4 separate regions of the Homo sapiens genome follow, and regions 2, 3 and 4 are each linked to region 1. Evidence: promoter capture Hi-C in 16 types of primary human blood cells and fetal thymus (Javierre and others, 2016). All regions are on one chromosome and are shown on one strand. The core of a region is centred on a gene start or on the middle of the fragment in contact, and the rest is flanking DNA. Distances in the headings are between cores, read along the strand shown. Region 1 holds the start of BBX (BBX high mobility group box domain containing). Region 2 overlaps LINC00882 (long intergenic non-protein coding RNA 882). Region 3 overlaps LINC00882 (long intergenic non-protein coding RNA 882). Region 4 overlaps DUBR (DPPA2 upstream binding RNA).

What was found. Contacts are between HindIII fragments. The CHiCAGO score rates a contact against its expected background, and 5 or more counts as called.
Region 2: a contact is called between a fragment that was not itself captured here and the fragment with the promoter of BBX in region 1, in 2 of 17 cell types (endothelial precursors and megakaryocytes). The highest score is 7.4, in endothelial precursors.
Region 3: a contact is called between a fragment that was not itself captured here and the fragment with the promoter of BBX in region 1, in 10 of 17 cell types (megakaryocytes, erythroblasts, fetal thymus and 7 more). The highest score is 15.3, in megakaryocytes.
Region 4: a contact is called between a fragment that was not itself captured here and the fragment with the promoter of BBX in region 1, in 4 of 17 cell types (megakaryocytes, erythroblasts, M1 macrophages and 1 more). The highest score is 9.9, in megakaryocytes.

The regions. Positions count from the first base shown.
Region 1 is chr3:107,521,339-107,524,560 of GRCh38, reverse strand. It overlaps BBX (BBX high mobility group box domain containing), which reads right to left and starts at 1,599. Exons shown (of 18, transcript NM_001142568.3): 1 at 1,454-1,599. RefSeq lists silencers at 923-992, 1,103-1,192, 1,223-1,532 and an enhancer at 1,933-1,982. The HindIII fragment of the contact is 5,936 bases long and covers 1-2,672 here.
Region 2 is chr3:107,210,987-107,214,208 of GRCh38, reverse strand. All of the region lies in intron 1 of LINC00882 (long intergenic non-protein coding RNA 882), which reads left to right. Among named protein-coding and RNA genes, the nearest start is that of LINC00882, 28 kb to the left of the region's middle. The HindIII fragment of the contact is 2,421 bases long and covers 349-2,769 here.
Region 3 is chr3:107,233,256-107,236,477 of GRCh38, reverse strand. All of the region lies in intron 1 of LINC00882 (long intergenic non-protein coding RNA 882), which reads left to right. Among named protein-coding and RNA genes, the nearest start is that of LINC00882, 5.8 kb to the left of the region's middle. RefSeq lists a silencer at 495-544. The HindIII fragment of the contact is 477 bases long and covers 1,261-1,737 here.
Region 4 is chr3:107,249,755-107,252,976 of GRCh38, reverse strand. All of the region lies in intron 1 of DUBR (DPPA2 upstream binding RNA), which reads right to left. Among named protein-coding and RNA genes, the nearest start is that of DUBR, 11 kb to the right of the region's middle. The HindIII fragment of the contact is 4,555 bases long and covers 1-3,222 here.

The sequences.
Region 1 (3,222 bases), core at 350-2,849:
ATTTAGCAGAAATGATCGCGGCTATTTCACACATAAACGTGTTCCAGATTCTGGGATTCAGGGTCCTTGTAAATTACAGGACTCGGGTTCGGTCTCAGTTATGTTAAGTTTCATACAATACCAAAAAATAAATAAAATATGATAATAAATTTCAGAGGGTGAGTGAGCGAGACGAGGTGGAGGAGGAAAAGAAACCTCGAGTCTGATTTCTGTAATTTACTAGCGACCCGGATCGCAGCAAATAACAGTGTAACACGAGTGTGGCTTAAGAGGGCTAGGGAGCTCTTTCTAGAGGCATCGACCCCATCCCCGGATAAAGGATCTGCAAGTTTTCTGTCATCGCGACCAGGCAAAGCCGTAACTTACCTTCAGAAATAAGACTTTAAACGGCCAAGGCCTTCCTCCTCCCCTCCACCACCACCCTCAGCCTCGCTCTCTCCACCTTAAACTTATTGACACAACATAATCCCACATTCAAGCAAAATCCTGACACAGCCTCCCTCCTCCTCTTCCCCCTCCTCTCTTCCCTCCCGTTCTCTCTCTCCCTCTCTCTCTGTCTCCCTCTCTCCCCCCCCTTCCCTCCCTCTTCTCTCTCCCCTTCTCCCTCGCCCTCTTCCCCCTCTCCCCCTATTCTTCCTCCAGGCTACTCTGGCACTAAAACAGCACTTTCTCTACTCGCCGCGCATTTGGGTAGGGGTGGGGGGTGAGAGGGCACTGATCTGCGGGGCCGGAACACCCAAATCCCAACTCTCCAGATGAACGAGCAACTGGGCTGCTGTTCCCGGTCACCAACGCAGACGAAACGTTCAATAAATCCACCGAAGGCTGGCTCCTCGTACCTTCCTCCACTGCCCCTGCTCCCCAGGCCCCACCTCCCCGGCAGCCGAGACCAGGCAGGGCTCCACGTACTTTCGCCGAGATGAAGTTTGGGGCTCCCCGGGCGGCCACGAGCCGCCCGCCGGCGTGAGGGCTCTGTTGTTGTTTTCCTGGGGCCGCTCCAGCCCGCGCCCCGGCGCCCGTGCCCCTCTCAGGCGGCGCTGCCTGTGTGCCGAGAGGTGCTGGTTGCAAACGCAGCCTGGCACCGGCTGGCCTACTACTCCCCAGCCCGGCCCCCAGCCTCCCGCTCGCAGGGCACTGCCTCAGCGCCCCCCGCCCCCCGGCCCCAGCCGGCGCGGCCGCCGCGACCCTCGCCCCCGACCTCTCCCGACCCAAAGTTTTGGCGGAGGGGGAAAGTGCCCAGGGAGCGGGCCGGCTGGCGGCGGCTCCGGACGCGCGGGGTTCCCTCCGTCTTCCTCAAGTCCACCCTACCGGCTGCCGCCGCCGCCGCCGCCGCCGCCGCCGCTGCTCCTGCCGCGGAGTCCTTGGGGCTGCAGCCCGGCGGCTCGCAAGTGAGTAGGAAAACAGAAAGTGAGGGGAGTGCGCCCAGGGAGGGCTGGGGATGGGGGGCGCCTACCTCGCGGGCTCGCCGGGCGTGAGGGCGTGTGTGTAGCTAGCCCTCAGCGGCCAGTCAGGGTTTCTCTATGGGAAAGTGGAGAGAAGCTCGCGGAGCCGCTCTGCCTCCGCTTCACTGTACACTGCTCCACATACAGTACATGCAACCCGGAGAGACTGAAAACACTCATTTTATATAAGGCAGCCTGCCATTGGCCCGCGCAGTGACGGACAGGCCGCGCAGCCAAACAAGAGGCCCGTTACACCCAAACACACGCACACATACACACATTTTACAGAGACACACAAAGATCATCACATTTTCTATTTTCTAATGTTCGGGACCTGTAGACAGTAGGAGAGGACAGGTAAAGAGGCCCAGCAGAGTGGGGTAAAGGGGAAAACCCCTGTCTGCACCAAGTTGCAAGGCTTGAAACTGGTGTCCTTTTGACTTGGGAGGGTTATGGTAATAAACTACAACTCCACTGGATATGGAAGTGAGGGGGGTTTTTCATCGCTGCCTTTTGGTGCCCCATGGAAGAGGCCTGCATTGTGTTACGATTTTACAGCCTGACCCGGCTAACAAGTGGCCAAGAAAGGCTTTTATCACCTTGGATTTCTTTTGTCAATGGGTTAGCTATCACATAGGCCAAAATAGTGCAAGATAAGTTTATCAGGACTCTAATGCATTGAGGTTGTTAGTGCCTCATTCGTAGGTAGATTCAAAAAAATCAATATAACAACACACAAAGATAAACATTTTGCTGAAATAGCCAAACAACTTTTAACTGGTCAGTGGACTGCCATCACCTGTGTGGACATGCAAACTGTGCTGTTAGGTAAAATAAGTCATGGAAGATTGGCTATTGACCCTTAGCCTTCAAAACAGACCTTTGATTCAATATATACATGATTTATATTTTGCATATTATATATAAAAATATATGACTCTTTACATATTTCACATCTCATGTGAACATCATATGTTGCATGACTTTTGGAGATGATGAACCTCAGGACTGGTCTTTCTGATTGTTTTTCAACAATGCAACTTCAGAAGATTATATGAGACAGTTCAATACACATAAGTCAACAGGTTGGTGGAAAGAAGTCAAAGCTGGAAATTAGAAGGAATAAATTGTAGATTAAACTCTTTAACCAGCTGAGCAATCTTGAGCAAGTTACTTAACCTCTCCAATGCTCAGACTTGGTTTTGATTTTTAAGATTAAAATAAGAAGCTTTTCCAGATTCCCTCAATTAAATGTTTATTCAGCATCTACTATGTGTCAGGCATTATCTTAGGCCTAGATGTTTTCTTAGGGTTCCTTCCGTTTTAAGAGTTGGTGAATTATTCTCAAATACAAACATTTTGGAGATTACATAAACACTACGATTTTATGGCCTAGGTAAGTAGCTTTAAAACTTAAAGAAAACCCAACTAGGGCAACTTATTTCAGTTCCCCTTTTATTTCCTTGATGCTGTCTTAAGGTTTTTCTCTCGCATCCATAAAGTTGTTAAAAGAGTGTATGTGTGCATGTGAGCACTCCTGTGTAAGAGGGAGAAAGAGAAACAAAATCAGAAAAGTTTAAAAAGTTCAGAAAACAAAGTGGTATTTAGAAATGTGATGTTTATTTTTTTAGAAAAATCATTTTTAAAAGGAAAAGTATATAAAAAATCACAGCATTTTATTTTATTTTATTTTTGAGATGGAGTCTAACCCTGTAGCCCAGGCTGGAGTTCAATGGCGTGATCTCAGCTCACTGCAACCTCCGCCTCCCGGGTTCAAGAG
Region 2 (3,222 bases), core at 310-2,809, 310 kb after region 1:
CAGTCAGAACACATACAACATTGATTAAGTTTGCTGTCATGGCTGGGCGTGGTGGCTCACGCCTGTAATCCCAGTACTTTGGGAGGCTGAGTCAGGTGGATCACTTGAGGTCAGGAGTTCGAGACCAGCCTGGCCAACATGGTGAAACCCTGTCTTTACTAAAAATACAAAAATTAGCTGGCCTGGTAGTGGGTACCTGTAATCTCAGCTACTTGGGAGGCTGAGGCAGGAGAATTGCTTGAACCCAGGAGGCAAAAGTTGCAGTGAGCCAAGATTGCGCCACTGCCCTCCAGCCTGGGCCACACAGTGATACTCTATCGCCAAAAAAAAAAAAAAAAAAAAAAAGCTTGCTGTCATGTGGGTGCAACTTGTGGTGCCCCAAAGCAATTACAGTAGTAACATCAAAGATCGCTGATCACAGGTCACCACAACATATATAATTGTAATGAAAATATTTGAAATATTTTGAGAATTACTGAAGTGTGACACAGAGACACGAAGTGAGCACGTGCAGTTGGAAAGTTTGTGCTGATAGACTTGCTCGACGCAGGTTTGCTGCAAAACTCCAATTGTAAAAAAACAAAAAATGTTATTATCTGTGAAGAGCAGTAAAAGGAAGGGCAATGAAGTGAGGTATGCCTGTACTAGAGTTTGTTTGTGTGTTTCTGCCCAAATGGTTGAATGCTGTTCTGATTGTATTTGGCATCGAGCTAATCAGAGCTGTCGTAAGGGGAACTATGGTTTTGGAGTTTGTTGTGCTTGGCAATTCTAAGGAAAGTAGCCATTAGAGCAGAAGAAAGTGACCTTACAAACTGATGCTAAAAATATCCCCGGTCTACATAAAGAAAATACACACAAACCTCTCATAGCCTTTCTTAAAGAAAGAGTAGAGTTACCTTTCCTAGATATCAAACATTCAGTCTCTATACTGTCCTTTGGTGATGGGATTTTTTTCTCTGCCAATCTGCATTCACTGCTTATTTTAAACTTTGGAAATGAGCAAGCGAGGGCTGAGAGTGAAGAAGCTGAACACATAGCAACATTTATGTGGTTTTGTGCACCATCAAGTAACAAACTGTAGCTTTTGGATCTCTGGACATCTACTTTTGCACTGTAATAAAATAATTCTAGGGCACAATTTCAAGTTATAGGACAATGATACTCTGTGAGTTTCAACAAGAGGGGAAAATGAAAAAGGATGTTTTTAAGTGAGGGTAGAAACACTTTCAAAATGAATGAAACTCTTTGAATTACAGTGTACTGTGACATAAAGAAACAGTTGTGGGTCAACTTCAAAATTCTGGTGTTTTCATCTCTCGGAATTTCTTGGCAGTGTCTCCCACTTGAAGGTTTATAGTGAGTATAATGTACCATTTCTACTGATCAAAGAAAGTTACTTGGTGTCAAAAAGCTACTTGGGAACCAGCCTGATTACTGGGTTATTTCTTAATGAGTTCTGGCACATGGTTCTCATCTTTTTAAGAGGGAAAAGTGTAACTCGGCAGCACCAAGTGGAAACATAAGCATTTTGGCAAGTGTGGAGATGCAGCACAGCTGGATAAAAACTCCCTGCTTTGAAATCTCGTATCTCAAATGCTACATCCATTTTTAAGCACATTGCACTGTCAGTTCAGGTTTCAATATGAACAGGAACTGGGGCCATTCAATGATATAGTAATAAATCAAAGATTGGGATCTATTCACTGGATTGCTTGCGCTCTCTTTTTTTTCTTCACAAGTAATTTGTGAGGACAACAGGTGAGGGACAATGAAGGAGGAGAATATGATGCATGGGTGTTGCGCTGTCGGCGGAAACCTTGGCAAGCAGGACACTTAAGACAGTAATTTATCCTGTGGCATGATCTTCACCTCCTGAATCAGCATTCCTCTGGTTAATCAGGGGAACACAAGGCACTGATGGTTTTTCTTTTAAAAATGCCTTTTATTTTTATTATAAAGTAATACCTGCCTATAAAATGCAGGAAATAAAGGAAAATTTAATTGGTAAAGATGTTGCCTACTGCAGCTTTCAGCTTTCCATCTTTGACACACAATTGTCCCTGTAATCCAATACAACTTGAATAAAGACCTCAGTCTCCCAAGCATACAATCTAGTCCTTCAATGGCAGTCAACAAACATACAACAAGTTGCATACCCTGAGTCAGGCACTGGACTAGGTGCTGAAAATACAAAGGGAACACAGATTTGGTCCCTGACACACAAATCTTAATGGAGAGTGGAAAATTATGAGCAATTAAACTAGTGACTAAGTCTGGGAAATTACTGGATATCTGAAGGCTGAATGAATCTGTATAAAGACTAAAAGAGAAGAAGTGTAGAAGTGGCATGTGTTTTTTCTATGAACACATGTGTTTTCTATGAATCTTGGCTTCCTCACCTGTGAAATGAGGAGGTTAGACCAGATGGTTTGCTGGATGATCAACTTGTCCCGGCTTGCTTGGTACTTTCCCAGTTTCAGCAGTGAAATGTCCTAGGAATCTTTTTAGTCTCTGTTTTAAAACTGAAAGTCCCTTGTCCTGGAGACCCCAAAGTCCTGGGAAAACTAAGAGGGTTGGCCATCCTATTTATATGGTTATTTCTAGTTCTCATATTCCATGATTGTATTTTGAGAAAGAGTACTTGAAGTTTATGATATGGCCACAGGGTAAGACAACTTAGATTGAAATATAAGTACATTAGCAGTACTATTATTATGTTTTTAATCCTAAAGTGTGATTTATTTAAACACATTTTGGGCAAAACAAGCTTTGTGTTCTAGCTTATGACAAAAACATTAGTATTGTATTTTTGGGAAAATAAGTTTTATTCTTCCAAGAAAATATCTCACAAATAAATATTTGCAAGCACTTTGCAGGGTCACAAAGTTTTATGCAAGCAGTTATCTTTGTTGTGATTCTCAGTTGTGTCCTCTAAAAGTCTGGTGTAGTGGAAAGAGTACTGGCTTTGCAGTCAGGCAATTTTTGTTCTTTTACTTACTGACCATGAGAGCTGGAGAAAATAACTCCTCTGTGATACAGTTTCTTCTTTTATAAAATATGAATAATAATGGCTACCTGGTAGGGTTGTTAGGAGAATCTGAGTACATGGGCATGTAGAAGTGCTCAATGCAGATTTTTTTTTTATTTCTGTAAACAGTTTGCTTTCTGTTATACTTAAAGGGATCTGGATGTGTTTGGGATTCAAGTGAGAGAGATGATCTT
Region 3 (3,222 bases), core at 250-2,749, 290 kb after region 1:
GACAGAAAACTATATGGCAAATGTGTGCGTGTGTGTGTGTGTGTTGGGGAGGACTAGGGATGAATTCAGTCTGTAATCTAGAAAAACTGTGTCCAGGATAGGAACAGAGAAGGGACAAACTTTATATGTATACACAGGATTACTTTTTCCTTTTCATGATGTGTTTTATTTGGAAGCATTTACATGTTCTCTTTCTCTTTTCCTCCTTTTTTTTTTCTCCTGCACCTTTCTTTTTCTTAAGCTAAGCTGTCACAGTGAAATACTGTGACTAAGCCACAACTCATATAGAAAACTGAACGGTGCATTGTAAAATAGGACACAAAACAAAAGACTTCATCCGAGAGCTGAGATCATCACGAGTACACAGACCCACTGCAGTAATTCAACAGTGTTTCTCAGAGCCCAGGACAATTTTTTCAATTCGTGATATCCTACTGCCCCCTGCTGTTCATGTGGAAGCACTGACTACAGAAATTAAAGTTTTCATAACATTGCACAGGTTTTAGTGCAATGTTAGCGTGCTATCAAAGAAAGTTAAGTAGTTCAAAGATTTAAACAGAGTAATTTAAGGAATTGCTTTCTAAAAGGCTGAATATCAAAGAAATTACAAAGCAACTTTCTCTACTGCCTGATATGTTGAAGAGAACTCTAATCCAGTTATTTGGCTAATGAATCCGGTTTCGTTTTTAAGTTTCTGAGGGGAGCAGAGCAGAAGGCAATTGAGGTAGCTTAGAGATAAATTAGTAAAGATAGAGCAGGGAGTAGATGGAGCAAATGAAAGGCAAAATGTGCAAGAAGGAGGGGGTAATGAATAATTTACATCCTCGAGGGTAAAGCAGTTCAGTCCTGAACAGATCGTTTACATTCCTCAGGGGGGTCGGGCAGAAACGGGCTCCACGGAAAAGCCCGGATGGGCCATTTGTGAGCCTCAGCTCTTCTGCCTCCTGCTCCTGGATTTGATCATGGAAACCTCTCAGGGCAGTTAGGATGAGTTGGAGCCTCTGAAGCAGAGCAGAGGCACATCATCTTTAGAGCTGATTTCCTGGGCTTCTCTGCAATTTGTAAAGAGCTCAGGGGCTGTCTCCTGGATGTAAGTCAGCCCATGTGCAAATGCGTATGTGTGAGCATGCGAGTAGGATGTTATATGTTCCACGTTTTAGACTCTGAGGGCTGCTAGTTCCTGCATGGCAGACCTTCCCCTTGGGATTAACTAATAAGGTGCTAGCGTTCCCCGTCACTCAGCAAAAGTAGTTAGAAGCTTGGGGCCTTGCTTCAGCATTTGTTTTTTTGCTGGGACTCTTTCTCCATGAGGAACACGACTGGAGAAGAAACGTTCGATATTTAGAAAATTAAATGTATCCATGTTATGATAGATGTAGAAATCCAGTCCAAACTGCTCGTGAAAGATGTAGTTTTTGCTATAAGTACTATAGGAGTGTCACTTCTAAAACTTCCAAAGTTCCTACTTCAAAGGCACAATGATGGATTTTAAAAAATAAAACTTTGAGAAAACATTTACATGGTTTATTTCAGGTAACAATTAATAACCTGATTCCTTAATGCTTGGGGCTGTTACGTTCATAGCATTGCTTTTAGTGCTATCATTTCCTATTTCTCTTGTATGACATATTGTATTAGTCTGTTTTCATGCTAGTAATAAAGACATACCTGAGACTGGGCAATTTACAAAAGAAAGAGGTTTAATTGGACTTAAACTTCCACGTGGCAGGGGAAGCTTTACAATCATGACAGAAGGCAAGGAAGAGCAAGTCATGTCTTACGTGGATGGCAGCAAGCAAAGAGAGAGAGCTTGTGCACGGGAATTCCTCTTTTTAAAACCATTAGATCTCATGAAACTTTTTCATATCATGAGAACAGCATGGGAAAGACTTGCCCGCGTGATTCAATTACCTCCCACCAGGTCCCTCCCACAACACGTGAGAATTAAAGATGCGATTTGGGTGGGGACACAGCCAAACCATATCATTCCTCCCCTGGCTCCTCCCAAATCTCATGTCCTCACATTTCAAAATCAATCATGCCTTTTCAACAGTCCCCCAAAGTCTTAACTCATTTCAGCATTCACTCAAAAGTCCACATCTGATACAAGGCAAGTCCCTTCTGCCTATGAGCCTGTAAAATCAAAAGCAAGTTAGTTACTTCCTGGATACAATGTGGGTACAGGCATTGGGTAGCCATTCCAAATGGGAGACATTGGCCAAAAGAAAGTTGCTACAGGCCCCATGCAAGTCCGAAATCCAGCGGGGCAGTCAAATCTTAAAGCTCCAAAATGATCTTTTTTCACTCCATGTCTCACATCCAGGTCATGCTCACACAAGAGGTAGGTTCCCATGGTCTTGGGCAGCTCCGCCCCTGTGGCTTTGCAGGGTACAGCACTCCTCCTGGCTGTTTTCAGGGACTGGCCTTGAGTGTCTATGGTTTTTCCAGGCACACGGCACAAGCTGTTGGTGGATCCACCATTCTGGGGTCTGGAGGATGATGGTCCTCTTCTCACAGCTCCACTAGGCTGTGCCTCAGTAGGGACTCTGTATGGGGGCTCTGACCCCACATTTCCCTTCCACACTGCCCTAGCAGAGGTTCTCCATGAGGGCCCCACCCCTGCAGCAAACTTTTGCCTGGGCATCCAGACATTTCCATACATCTTCTGAAATCTAGGTGGAGGTTCCCAAACCTCAAATCTTGACTTGTAAGCACCCACAGGCCCAACACCACATGGAAGCTGCCCAGGTTTGGGGCTTGCACTCTCTGAAGAAACAGCCTGAGCTGTACCTTGGCCCCTATTACTCACCGCTGGAGTGCCTGGGACTCAGGGCACCAAGTCCCTAGGCTGCACACAGAATGGGGACCCTGGGCCTGGCCCAGGTAACCATTTTCTCCCAGGCCTTCTGGCCTGTGATGGGAGGGACTGCCATGAAGACCTCTGACTTGCCCTGGAGACACCTTTCCCATTGTCTTGGGGATTAACATTCAGCTCCTCGTTACTTATGCAAATTTCTGCAGCCAGTTTGAATTTCTCCTCAGAAAATGGGTTTTTCTTTTCTATCACATTGTCAAGCTGCAAATTTTCCAAACTTTTTATGCTCTGCTTCCCTTATAAACTGAATGCATTTAATAGCACTGAAGTCACATCTTAAATGCTTTGCTGCTTAGAAATTTCTTCTGCCAGATACCCTAAATCATCTCTCTCAAGTTCAAAGTTCC
Region 4 (3,222 bases), core at 444-2,943, 270 kb after region 1:
TTTTGAGACGGAGTCTTGCTCTGTTGCCCAGGCTGGAGTGCAATGGTGTGATCTCTGCTCACTGCAACCTCTGCCTCCTGGGTTCAAGCAATTCTCCTGCCTCAGCCTCCTGAGTAGCTGAGATTACAGGCATGTGCCACCACGCCCAGCTAATTTTTTGTATTTTTAGTAGAGATGGGGTTTCACCATGTTGGCCGGGCTAGTCTCAAGCTCCTAACTTCGTGATCTGCCCGCCTTGGCCTCCCAAAGTGCTGAGATTGCAGGCATGAGCTACTGCACCCAGCATAAAGACTTAACTTTTAAATGTATACCTTTAAGATTTTCTTGTAGAAAGATCCTTACATAAGTTTTCTAAAGCTAGAGCCTTTCTTAGTCTGCTTTCCTAACCAAGTGTGAGTGTAACAAACTTTTCACCCAAGGATGAGTTACCTGTCTCATGTAGATGGACTATGAGCAATGTAGGCCATTGCTTCATTATGTGAGATAGAATATGTTCAGTTATTTATTTACAGAATCTATGAGTGCTTGCCTATCATTGAATATGTGCAACAAATCCATAGGGTGAATGCTATGAAGCTATTTCCGTCAAGGGAAAGCTATTCACCAAATAGAGAAATCACAGCTATCATGTTTAAAGGTATACATGCATCTATAGGAAAGGAATAGGGCCTCCAGTGCACATAACATGCCATTTCTTTGTGTAGGTTGCACTGGGGAAAAATATTTTAAGAAATATAGGTAGTACTCATAGCAGATAGGAATAGCAGATCATTTGCTTCTTGCTGCTCACATTTGCTAAGACTCTTATGAAGATTTTCCCTGGGCACATGAATCAGTTTAATAATGATTGCTGCCAGTTGGTGGCTAGACATCAGACTGCCAGCCTACTCAACAGTGTTGCCATCTGCTATTTGGATTCACAGTGTGTTGCTGCTACGCACCACCTCATTAAGAACGGGACCCTTGTGAGCCATAGACAGTGGCTTATTCAAGCGAGCGAAGCAAACTCCTCCCCAAGCCAAATTTGTAGAGGCTGCATGCATCTCATCTTATGTGGAGATTGCTCTACGTTGATCATGCAGTCTGATAGCTCATTGTCTCTGATCACTTAGGTTTAATATTTCAAGCCAGCTCCTTGTTTCAAATTAGTGTCAAAATACAAATATGATTATTTCAAAGACTTGTAAAAACTACTCACTCCAATTTTTTTTGGTAATGCATTCATATCTTAAAGTGGTATTAGTCAGTGGCTTGCCAAACAAATATTTTAATAAGTTATTATAATCCACTGGGCTTTTCTGGATAGATCTTCCAGTCCTGAAGATTTTTCAGTTTTGTAGAATTCCTACTGCAGTTTTTATTTCTTGGAAATGGACTTTCAAAGGCTTTAATCATATTTTCTCTTTTCCTCTCCCGTTAAATATCTAAAAGCAGCTGGAATGCAAAACATTTGTATCTGTCAGATAGACATGAGTGCATTTTACCTGACAACCACGGATTATCTTAGAGTTTTAAACACTGTTACAGAGAAAAGAAAATTTATTTGCATAGGTCACATAATATTTAGATCCTCTCCGTAGCACCTCCATAGATAGTAGATCCTGCAGTACTTTAAGCATTAGAGTTACACATCAAAATTAAGCTAGTTTCAAATCTCAAAGGAATTCATAAGCTGAGATTTAAGTCTCGGGTACCCCTCCCCTTACTTTCCACATAGGTACTTAGTTCTCACACCTGCACTTACCAGCATCCAGAATATATTTCTTAAGGCCTACTCTTGTTAGGTACTCTATGAAAAAGGGTTTTAGGCCAGGCACAGTGGCTCACACCTGTAATCCCAGCACTTGGGAAGCCCAGGCGGGCGGATCACTTGAGGTCAGGAATTTGAGACTAGCCTCACTAACATGGTGAAACCCCCATCTACACTAAAAATACAAAAAGTTAGACAGGCGTGGTGGTGGGTACCTGTAATCCCAGCTACTCGGGAGGCTGAGGCAGGATAATTGCTTGAGCCTGGGAGGCAGAGGCTGCAGTGAGCCGAGATTGCACCACTGCACTCCCTTCCAGGTGAAAGAAGAAGCCTCTGTCAAAAAAAAAAGGGGGGCGGGGAATGGGCTTTGATGGGCAAACAAAATTAGAAAGTGGGGTGTCTCAGACAGTATTCTCCAGGATGCAGATTCTGAGATATACTTTAATTGCAGGATATTTATTAAGAAGTGCCTTTTGCCAAACATTTGTTCAAAGAGAGAGAGAAGCGGAATTGGGAGAAAATGAGTTATAATGTAGGTCCAATGACAGCCTTGGCCAACCCCACAGGGAGCTCTGGAGTTAAAACGGCCCTCGGAGATGTCCTCAGATGGGCAAGAGAACAACTTTGTATCTCCACACTGATCAATCCTTGGCTATGGGCCACTCCACAAAAAAGTGTGACCTTAGGTGAAGTGGTTTTCTACAGCTATGCCAATTCCTGAAGAGGGCTGACAGCTGCAGGCTGCCTGCTAACATCACACCCAGCAAGTGGGGAGCAAGCCGTTCTTTGAAGGGGGATCTGGGCTGCACATCATACTACTGCCACATGTAACACATCAAATCATCTCTTTTGGAGAGTTGCACTAAACATTCACATACGAATGGCTTTGAGAATCTGGCACTGAAGCAAATTTCTAATTTAATTTTTCTCCTGACATCAGTTCATATCCTATGGAACTAGTTTTCCACAGAACATAATTCGATAAACGTCTCCCTAATCTTACAGTGCCTTGCAGGCTGTTAAAAGAACTGCATATAGATGGTTTGCTCTGGGCTTGCCTGCCCTTCAACAGGGTCTATTGGTTCTGCCTGAGAACGTTGGTGTTGCTATATTAGTTAAGGACCTGCTATACAATGGCATGTATGTACTGTGATGAAATTAACCATCACACCTTCATAAGGGTCAGATGAATGAATATGTGATGGATATACTGTGATGAATATGTCATGAAATAGTGACAATTCACTAAGGCCACCAAGAATGAGCCTGTGAGAAGGTACCAGTATCACTAAGTGCAGTAGTGGCTTTACTCTTTAGACCAGGGCTGATGGTAAATGAGGTGGTCACAGAGCTGGGATTGTTAATATGATTCAGGGGTAATGGACCCTCAAGTAATAGAGGGCTCTGGAGGACTAGTGCTTAATTACCAAAAGTCAAGAGGCCATAATTACTATAACAACTGGTGAAATTGG